Linked DNA regions of Homo sapiens: all the other regions are linked to region 2. The links are contacts of gene promoters, found by promoter capture Hi-C in blood cells and fetal thymus (Javierre and others, 2016). All regions are on one chromosome and are shown on one strand. The core of a region is centred on a gene start or on the middle of the fragment in contact, and the rest is flanking DNA. Distances in the headings are between cores, read along the strand shown.

Region 1 (2,700 bases), core at 2-2,501, 94 kb before region 2:
TGAGGCCTGGGGCTAGTGGGGAGAGCTTCTTGGCCTCTTCCCAGAGGCAAGGGAGGAGGAGGGAGGCTGGGAAAGCCGCTGGGGCTCAGTGTCGCAATTCCGGGCCGTGCTGGGACCTTTGCTCCACGAGGTGCCTATGGAGGGGAGGGAACACGATTCTGGAGGCTGCTGGGATTGGGGTGGGGGTTCCTGGGAGGCAGTCCTTTTGCAAGAGCTGCTAAGAGCGCTGGGTAAGGAGAGGAAGGGGAGAGACATGGAACTTGGCTGGTCTGCAGGGAAATGCCACTGTTTTGGCCGGGAGTAGGGGGCGGGAGTGGCGGGAGAGGGGGTGGCCGGCTGGGGAGGAGCCAGCCTGGTGGAGAAGCTGCCCTGTGGGCGGGGGTGAGGAGGGGAGGGCTGTGGTCACCAGGCAGGAAGGAGGGGTGGCCTGACCCCTCGGCAGTCCCTCCCCTCAGCCTTTCCCCAAATTGCTACTTCTCTGGGGCTCCAGGTCCTGCTTGTGCTCAGCTCCAGCTCACTGGCTGGCCACCGAGACTTCTGGACAGGAAACTGCACCATCCTCTTCTCCCAGCAAGGGGGCTCCAGAGACTGCCCACCCAGGAAGTCTGGTGGCCTGGGGATTTGGTGGGTCTGCTCCTTAGCAGTGGCCTGGGGCTCTGTGTGTGTATCTGGGGTGGGGTCGGGGAATGTCCTAAGGATCTGAGAAGGGGGTTTCTGGGGAGAAGTGAGGGGTGATGGTGATGGAAGCTTGGGACAGGAGCAGGACTCTGGGTCCCAGAATAACTCATGAGGGGCTCAGGGGAGGAGGTCCTCTATGTGAATTGGGGAGATTCTTGGAGACAGGTTTGTGCTGGGACCCTGGAAAGTGGCACGAGCGAGGTTCTCTAATAAGCAGCGTGTTTCACTGGGTGGAGTGAGCTGTCCTCAGTGTTGGAGTGAGGGGGAAGGGGCCCAAGAGAAGCAGGGCAGATGCACCCAAACATTCCCTGCTGGCCTGGAGGGGACTTTGGGGGAGAAAAGCCGGCACGGTGGCTGGGAGCCCAGACTTTGGAGTCAGAGGAGGGTTGGAGTCTTGACTCTACCGCCGCCTAACTGTGTGACCATAGTTACTTAATCTCTTTGAACCTCAGTTTGCTTATCTGTAAAATGAGTTTAAGAATAGTCCTGAGCCAGGAGCAGTAGCGTGCGCCCATAATCTCAGATACTCAGGAAGCTGAAACCTGATTGCTTCAGCCCAGTAGTTTGAGGCGATAGTGTCCTATTATTGCACCTGTGAATAGCACTGAGTTCCAGCCTGGGCAACATAGAGAGACCCCATCTCAAAAAAAAAATTAATAGTTTTGACCTCAGAGGGATATTATGAGGAAAGCACATAAAGCCTTATAACAGGCTGGGCGCAGTGGCTTACTCCAATAATCCCCACACTTTGGGAGGCCCAGGTGAGAGGATCACTTGAGCCCAGGAATTCCTAGACTAGCCTGGGCAAAATAGGGAGAACCTGTCTCTAAAAAACATAATAGTAATATAATAAAGCCTTAGTACAGGCTAATATATGGCAAGTAAATGTTAGCTGATATTGTTGATATTGATAAAAGGGAGGATCAGGTGGAGAAGGGAGCTGAGGCCAGAAAGGAGCCCAGTTCTAGAAGAGTATAATCTGGGTCCTTCCTGCAGGACAGTGCCTTGGTAATGACCAGGGCTCCAGGAAGAGATGTCCTTGTGGCTGGGGGCCCCTGTGCCTGACATTCCTCCTGGTAAGCTTCATTCCATCCCTCTCCCCTGAGCCCAGACCGCAGGCTCCACGCCTCCTGTAGGAATCAGCCTCCTTCATTACCTGCCTTCTTCCTTCCTCCAGAGAGCAGTCCAGAGTCATTCTTAGTCGTGCTTGCCTCCCGCCCAGATCACCTCTCCCCTGGTTCCAGTGCCTGGCCCTTGCAGGCACCCGCCCAGTCCTCCCCAGTCTGGATTTGCTGCTAGAGAGTTGGCCAGCTGAGTGCTTACCCTGCTCTGGCTTTGAAGAGTTTTATCTGATCTCTGAAATGCATACACTCCAGCCCCCCAAAGGGACAAGGATTAACATCTTCATTTAAGGTCCTGAGATGTAAGAAACTACAAGTGACTAGTCCTAGCTAGAGCCCACACAGACTCTAGGGTCCCAAAGCCTGAGCTGGGACTTTGCTGCCCTCTAAGGGTGGGGATAAGTTTGCAGTTTCCCAGCTAGGACGCTGGGCCGTGGAGCCGGGATGGGGCCTGAGACCCCCTTGTGCCTCTCTTTTGGAGCTCAGACTCTGCGGTGGAGCTGTGGAAGCCAGGCGCACAGGATGCAAGCAGCCAGGCCCAGGGAGGCAGCAGCTGCATCCTCAGAGAGGAAGCCAGGATGCCCCACTCTGCTGGGGGTACTGCAGGGGTGGGGCTGGAGGCTGCAGAGCCCACAGCCCTGCTCACCAGGGCAGAGCCCCCTTCAGAACCCACAGGTGAGGAGCTTCTGGGTTTGGAGGAGGTAGGGGTCCAGATTCCAGGTCCTGGATCTGGAAGAGGTTCCTTGGGGGTTTTTACTTTATATATAATCTCATGGTTAAGTTCAGAGGCTTTAGAGCTAACTAAATCTGACTGATCTAAGTGTGAATTTTGTCTCTAGGCCTTTCTGAGCCTCACTTTCCTTGTTTATAAAATGGAAATAAAAATTATGGTTGTCATAAG
Region 2 (2,877 bases), core at 138-2,637:
GCCCACTTCCCGCACTGTCAGCGTATGCCGTGTGCCCTCTGTGGCCAGGCCGTACTTGTTGCTGGCGCTGATGTCACTGCCTCCGCGCTGCCAGCGCACCTTCACTCCTGCCCGCTCTGTCTCGGCCTCGAACACGGCAGGGCTGCCTGCGGCCACTTCCACTGACCGTGGCTTCTTGCTAAAAGCTGAGACTGAAGGGCCAGGTGGAGGCTACAGCGGCCCCTGGTTGGAGCGTGCACCCCGCCCCTGCAGCCCCTCTCAGTAAATACTGTGCTAGCACTTTCTATGCATCCCCTCACGTAATACTCTACCAGTTCTCTGAGGTAGTTGCAGTTATTCTGTTCATTTCTCAGAGGAGGACACTGAGGCTCAGAGAAGCTAAGCGGCTCCTCCAAGATCACACAGCTAGCAGTCGGGAGAGCCAGGGCTGTGGTCCTGACCTCCCAACAAGACTTTTTCTGCATGTGTCCACTTTCCCTGCTTGGAGACACCCGTGATGAACCCAGCTCCCTTTCCCCCAACCATTTCGGGCCCTTGGCAGGGGGCGGGGAAGTCTGCCTACTTGGAATGTGGCCAAATTTGTCCTCCAAGGACCTCAGGCTGGGTATCAGCAACTGAGATAAAGCTGGCCTGGGAGGGCGCTGGGGGATGGGGACCTGGATCTCTGCCCTGGACAACCTTCATAAGGGCACAGCCCAGGCCCAGGTCCCTGGGCTGTGATTTTCCCTGCCCTTGGCCTGGGTTCAGGGGCTCCTGACTGTCCTCTCTCAGAGAAGAGGGGCTGTGTCACCCTCAACATGGGGGCCACACCGTACAGGCTCATGAAGCAGATAATGTCACAGCCAGGAGGAACCAACCCAATGCCACCACCACCCCCGGCACCCCAGGTTGGGAGACTGAGACCCATAGTGGGTAGAGACTGGTCTGAAGGCATGCCGTGAGCCTGGCTCAGCTCCATACTAAACGTGGGCTCTGTCCGCGGGGAACCTTGCTGTGGAAGGTGAAGGCAATGGGACAGGGAAGGGGTCCCTTTGCATTCTCAGAATGGGTTGACCCCGGGTGCTTCCTGTCTTGGCTGTGTCCCCTCTCTGCGTCCCTGACCTTGGGTTTACCTTCACCTCTCATCAGAGGGATGGGAAAAAGAAACCGAGAATCAAAAAAGGACCCTGGAGGACTGGCTGCCCCTGTCCTGGGGCTCAGAGGCCACGTCCTCGTCAACCCCCTCAAGAACTCCCTCCTAGCCCTGCTCCCCAATTGTAGACACCCCCCTGCTCCCACACTTAGACCCAACCCCAGTCCTAAAGCTACCTGGCTTCTTCCCCGGCTCAGGCATCCTGAGAGACGTCACACCAGGCACGAAGCAGGCACAGGTCACCCAAAGAGGGACTGAGTGGGGTCCTGTCCTTCCCACTATATATGGGGACCTCCCCCCTCCCCAGGCTCTGCTTATCTGCCTCCTGTCCAGCCACCTGCTAAATATAGATGAATTCCAGAGAGCTGAGGTCTCTCCAGGGAGAAGGTAGGGCCACATTGTCCCTGGCTGGCTCCTGTCCCTTCCCCCCTCACCCCCCGCAGCACAATTCTGCCTCCCCAACCTTTGGCAAGCCTCAGGGGTACTCCAAGCCCCGTGTGTGTCCCTCTTACAGCAAATTGTACGGTGGGAGCATGCTGGGCCCATAACCCTAAGGCTAACGGGTCAGGAGCATCCTCGCAGGCAGTTCAGGCAGTGGTCATGTCCACAGACCCTGGGGCCAGGGTGTCTCTGAGTCCTAGCACTGCCATCTCTTTAATCTCAAAGCACCTGGTTTCCTCATCTGTAAAGCGGGGTGGGTGAAAGCAGCACCCACTGCACAGGATTGTCACACGTATGAAGTGGGTTTATAATTTTAAAAATGTTAGGCCGGGTGTGGTGGCTCATCTGTAATCCCAGCACTTTGGGAGGCCGAGGCAGGCAGATTATTTGAGGCCAGGAGTTTGAGACCAGCCTGGGCAACATGGCAAAACCCCATCTCTACTAAAAAAATAAAAAATAAAATAAATACACACACACACACAAATTAGCCAGGTGTGGTGGTGTGGACCTGTAGTATCAGCTACCCAGGAGGCTGAGGTGGGAGGATCGCTTGAGTCCAAGGAGTTCCGGGCTGCAGTGAGCCAAAATCGCACCACTGCACTGCAGCCTGGGTGACAGAGTGATAATAATAATAAAAATATTATTTATTATTATTTTTTATTATTAATATCTCAAAGAATAATAATAAAAAAATAAAAATGGGCTGGGCGAAGTGGCTCACACCTGTAATCCCAGCACTTTGGGAGGCTGAGGCGGGCAGATCACTTGAGCTCAGGAGTTCGAGACCAGCCTGGGCAACATGATGAAACCCCATCTGTACAAAAAATACAAAAATCAGTCAGGCATGTGACGCACACCTGTAGTCCCAGATGCTCGGGAGGCTGAGGCAGGAGAATCACTTGAGCCCGGGGGGTCAGGGCTGCAGTGAGCCATGTTCGTGCCACTGCACTCCAGCCTGGGCAACAAAGTAAGACCCTGTCTCAAAAAAAAAAAAATAAAAATAGAAGAATGAAGACACAACACCATTTTGCCTTCTCTTGTGGCCCTGCAGTAGGACTAGGGAGCTGCAGGGTTGGGCTGCAGTGAGCCCTCTGGGGTTGAGGAGGTGTGGGGCGGGTATTTGTCCCTACGATAATGGCCCCAGAATCTGGGTTCCCTAAGGTCTTTGACAGCGTTGGGAAGTCCCTCACTCCCAGGCTGTCTACTGCCACTACTTGCTACCGTCTGGAGGAAAACACAGGACTTACAGGCTTCTCCGCTCAGCTTGGTCTGTTTCTCCCCTGCTGTGGCTAGGAGCTAGAAAG
Region 3 (2,881 bases), core at 162-2,661, 120 kb before region 2:
GCCTTAAGCGATTCTCCTGCCCCAGCCCCTCAAAATACTGGGATTATAGATGTGAGCTACTGTGCCCAGCCAATAGCTATTATTTTTGCAACTCATTATCAAGTTCTTCCAAAGCTTTCAACACGGCTTTTATAGTAGTAATAATGGCCTTTGTTTTTGCATGTATTTCATCAATTTACATGCTTAATTAAATTTGGTGTTAATTGCAATAAAAGATACAATTGGAATAAACAGGTTTGAGAACAACTACAACCAACCCTTGGTTTGGTAAGCATAGAACTCAACTGGAGGGAGCCGAAGATTGTCATACTACCAGCAAGCATTTGGCAGACCATGAGCATTAGAATGACCGTGAGGTTAGAATGTTTTATAGAGGGAAGGGAATGTGCCAGTTAGTATGTTGTGATAGCTAAGTGGTTGTTGCATAGAAGAACTTGTACAGGTCTGTGAGGCTGGGATAGCTGCAGCGTAAAGAAGAAGTGGAAAAGGTGGAGAAAGGCGGACAAGTGGAGAACTTTACATCTTGGGGATGTAAAGTTCTTAAAACAGTGCCTGACTGGGCGCAGTGGCTCACGCCTGTAATCCCAGCACTTTGGGAAGCCGAGGCAGGCCAATCACCTGAGGTCAGGAGTTCGAGACCAGCCTGACCAACATGGTGAAACCTGTCTTTACTAAAAATACAAAAATTAGCTGGGTGTGATGGTGTGGGCATGTAATCCCAGCTACTCAGGAGGCTGAGGCAGGAGGATCACTGGAATCCAGGAGGTGGAGGCTGCAGTGAGCTGAGGTTGTGCCACCGCACTTCAGCCTGGGCGACAGAGCAAGCCTTCATCTCAAAAAAAAAAAAAAAAAAAAAAAAACACACAAAGAAAATCCCCCCAAAAAACCAGCGCCTAGTACATAGTAAGCACTTAATAAGGTTAAGCCATTGATATTCTCATGATTATTTTCATCATCATTTTCATGAATGTTTGGAAGAATAGGAAGGGGCACAGATCTGACTCCTGCCCTCCTAACTCAGCCACTGCTCTGAGCTGAAGCTCTTCTAAAGAGAGCACTGTGGGAATAACAAATTAGGGCACATCCATGTAATGGAATACCTCAGCAATAAAATGAGATGAGCTCTTGATACAGCAAACTCAGATGAATCTCAGAGGCATGATGAGTGAAATGAAACAAGACAGTCTCAAAAGGTTGCATACTGCCTAATTCATTTACATGACATTCTATTTTTAATTTTATTTTATTTTATTTTTAGAGACAGGGTCTTGCTCTGTCACCCACGCTAGAGTGCAGTGATTCGATCGCAACTCACTGCAGCCTCGACCTCCAGGCTTCCGTCATCTTCCCACCTCAGCCTTCTGAGTAGCTAGAACCACATGCACCTACCACCATGTCTAAATTTTTTTTGTGTGTGTAGAGATGGGGTCTCCCTATATTGCTTAGGCTGGTCTTGAACTCCTGGCCTCAAGCAATCCCCCCGCCTCAGTCTCCCCAGGTGTTGGGATTACTGTGCTCGGTCTATAGGACATTCTATGAGGGCAAAACAATAGTGATGGAGAACAGATCAGCCAGGGGCTGGGGGCGAGGGGAGGGTGTGATTACAATGGGATACCACGATGGAGTTTTTGGGCTGTTGCAAATGTTCTGCATCCTGATTTGGGTGGTGGTTATTTAAGTCTATACATATGTTAAAATTCAGAGAACTTTATATCCCAAATTTGCTATATGTTAATTAAAAAAAAAAGTAAAAATAAAGCCTTAAGAAATGAAGGGAGGCGGGGCACGGTGGCTCACGCCTGTAATCCCAGCACTTTGGGAGGCCAAGGGTGGCGGATTACCTGAGGGCAGGAGTTCCAGACCAGCCTGGCCAACATGGTGAAACCCTGTCTCTACTAAAAATATACAATTTAGCCATGCGTGGTGGTGGGCACCTGTAATCCCAGCTGCTTGGGAGGCTGAGGCAGGAGAATCGCTTGAACCTGGAAGGCAGAGGTTGCAGTGAGCCGAGGTCGTGACAGAGCAGGACTCCATCTCAAAAACATAAAAATAAAAATAAAAATAAAAAAAAGAAAGAAATGAAGGGGCCAGACAAAGCGGCTCATGCCTGTAATCTTAGCACTTTGGGAAGCCGTGGCAGGGGGATCGCTTGAGCTTAGGAGTTCAAGACCAGCTTGGGCAACGTGACAAAACCCCATCTTAAAAAAAAAAAATAGAAAAATTAGCTGGGCATGGTGGCACGCACTTGGGAGGCTGAGGTGGGAGGATCGCTTGAGCCCAGGAGATTGAGGCTGCAGTGAGCCGTGTTTGTGCCACTGCACTTCAGCCTAAGTGACAGAGAAAGACCCTATTTCAAAGGAAAAGAAAAAGAAGTGAAGGCCCTGTAGAGAGCGTCCTAGTGTCTAAGCTGACCTGGCCCCAAGCGCTGCTCGAGGGGTGCTTCTGTGACGGCGCAGCATGTGTGCCCAGGCCTGGTTCCTCACGGCCAGGCCCATCATCACTCACTGGCTTTTTCCTTCCTCGTGTTAGATTGGAGCTGGAGGGAGCATCACTGGGCTGAAGTTTAACCCTCTCAATACCAACCAGTTTTACGCCTCCTCAATGGAGGGAACAACTAGGCTGCAAGACTTTAAAGGCAACATTCTACGAGTTTTTGCCAGCTCAGACACCATCAAGTGAGTAGTTTAACTAGCAGGGGAAAGGGCTTCTAAGCTTAGGTGTAGTTCCGGCAAGAGCATCCAGATCCCATTTCCTTAACCCAACCTGGCCCAGGGAAGAAAGGAAAGATGTCAGCCACTTTCCGCCCTTCTTTCTCTTTCTCAAACTGCTCCTTGGCTGCCCTCACTTTGGTCCAGGTGGGTTACTGCTTTGGGAAGGTGTT

Evidence for each region. Contacts are between HindIII fragments. The CHiCAGO score rates a contact against its expected background, and 5 or more counts as called.
Region 1: a contact is called between a fragment that was not itself captured here and the fragment with the promoter of MYBPC3 in region 2, in 2 of 17 cell types (endothelial precursors and erythroblasts). The highest score is 7.9, in endothelial precursors.
Region 3: a fragment that was not itself captured here is called in contact with the fragment with the promoter of MYBPC3 in region 2 in 1 of 17 cell types (erythroblasts); the score reaches 6.0 in erythroblasts.

Annotation. Positions count from the first base shown.
Region 1 is chr11:47,257,506-47,260,205 of GRCh38, forward strand. It overlaps NR1H3 (nuclear receptor subfamily 1 group H member 3), which reads left to right and starts at 491. Exons shown (of 10, transcript NM_005693.4): 1 at 491-624; 2 at 1,675-1,754; 3 at 2,286-2,474. The coding sequence starts at 1,712. RefSeq lists an enhancer at 1,931-2,499. The HindIII fragment of the contact is 1,012 bases long and covers 746-1,757 here.
Region 2 is chr11:47,351,315-47,354,191 of GRCh38, forward strand. MYBPC3 (myosin binding protein C3) reads right to left here and starts at 1,388. Exons shown (of 35, transcript NM_000256.3): 1 at 1,309-1,388; 2 at 1-191. The coding sequence starts at 1,333. RefSeq lists enhancers at 1-31, 32-1,012. The HindIII fragment of the contact is 20,166 bases long and covers 1-2,877 here.
Region 3 is chr11:47,230,285-47,233,165 of GRCh38, forward strand. It overlaps DDB2 (damage specific DNA binding protein 2), which reads left to right. Exons shown (of 10, transcript NM_000107.3): 4 at 2,530-2,675. Among named protein-coding and RNA genes, the nearest start is that of DDB2, 17 kb to the left of the region's middle. The HindIII fragment of the contact is 2,598 bases long and covers 113-2,710 here.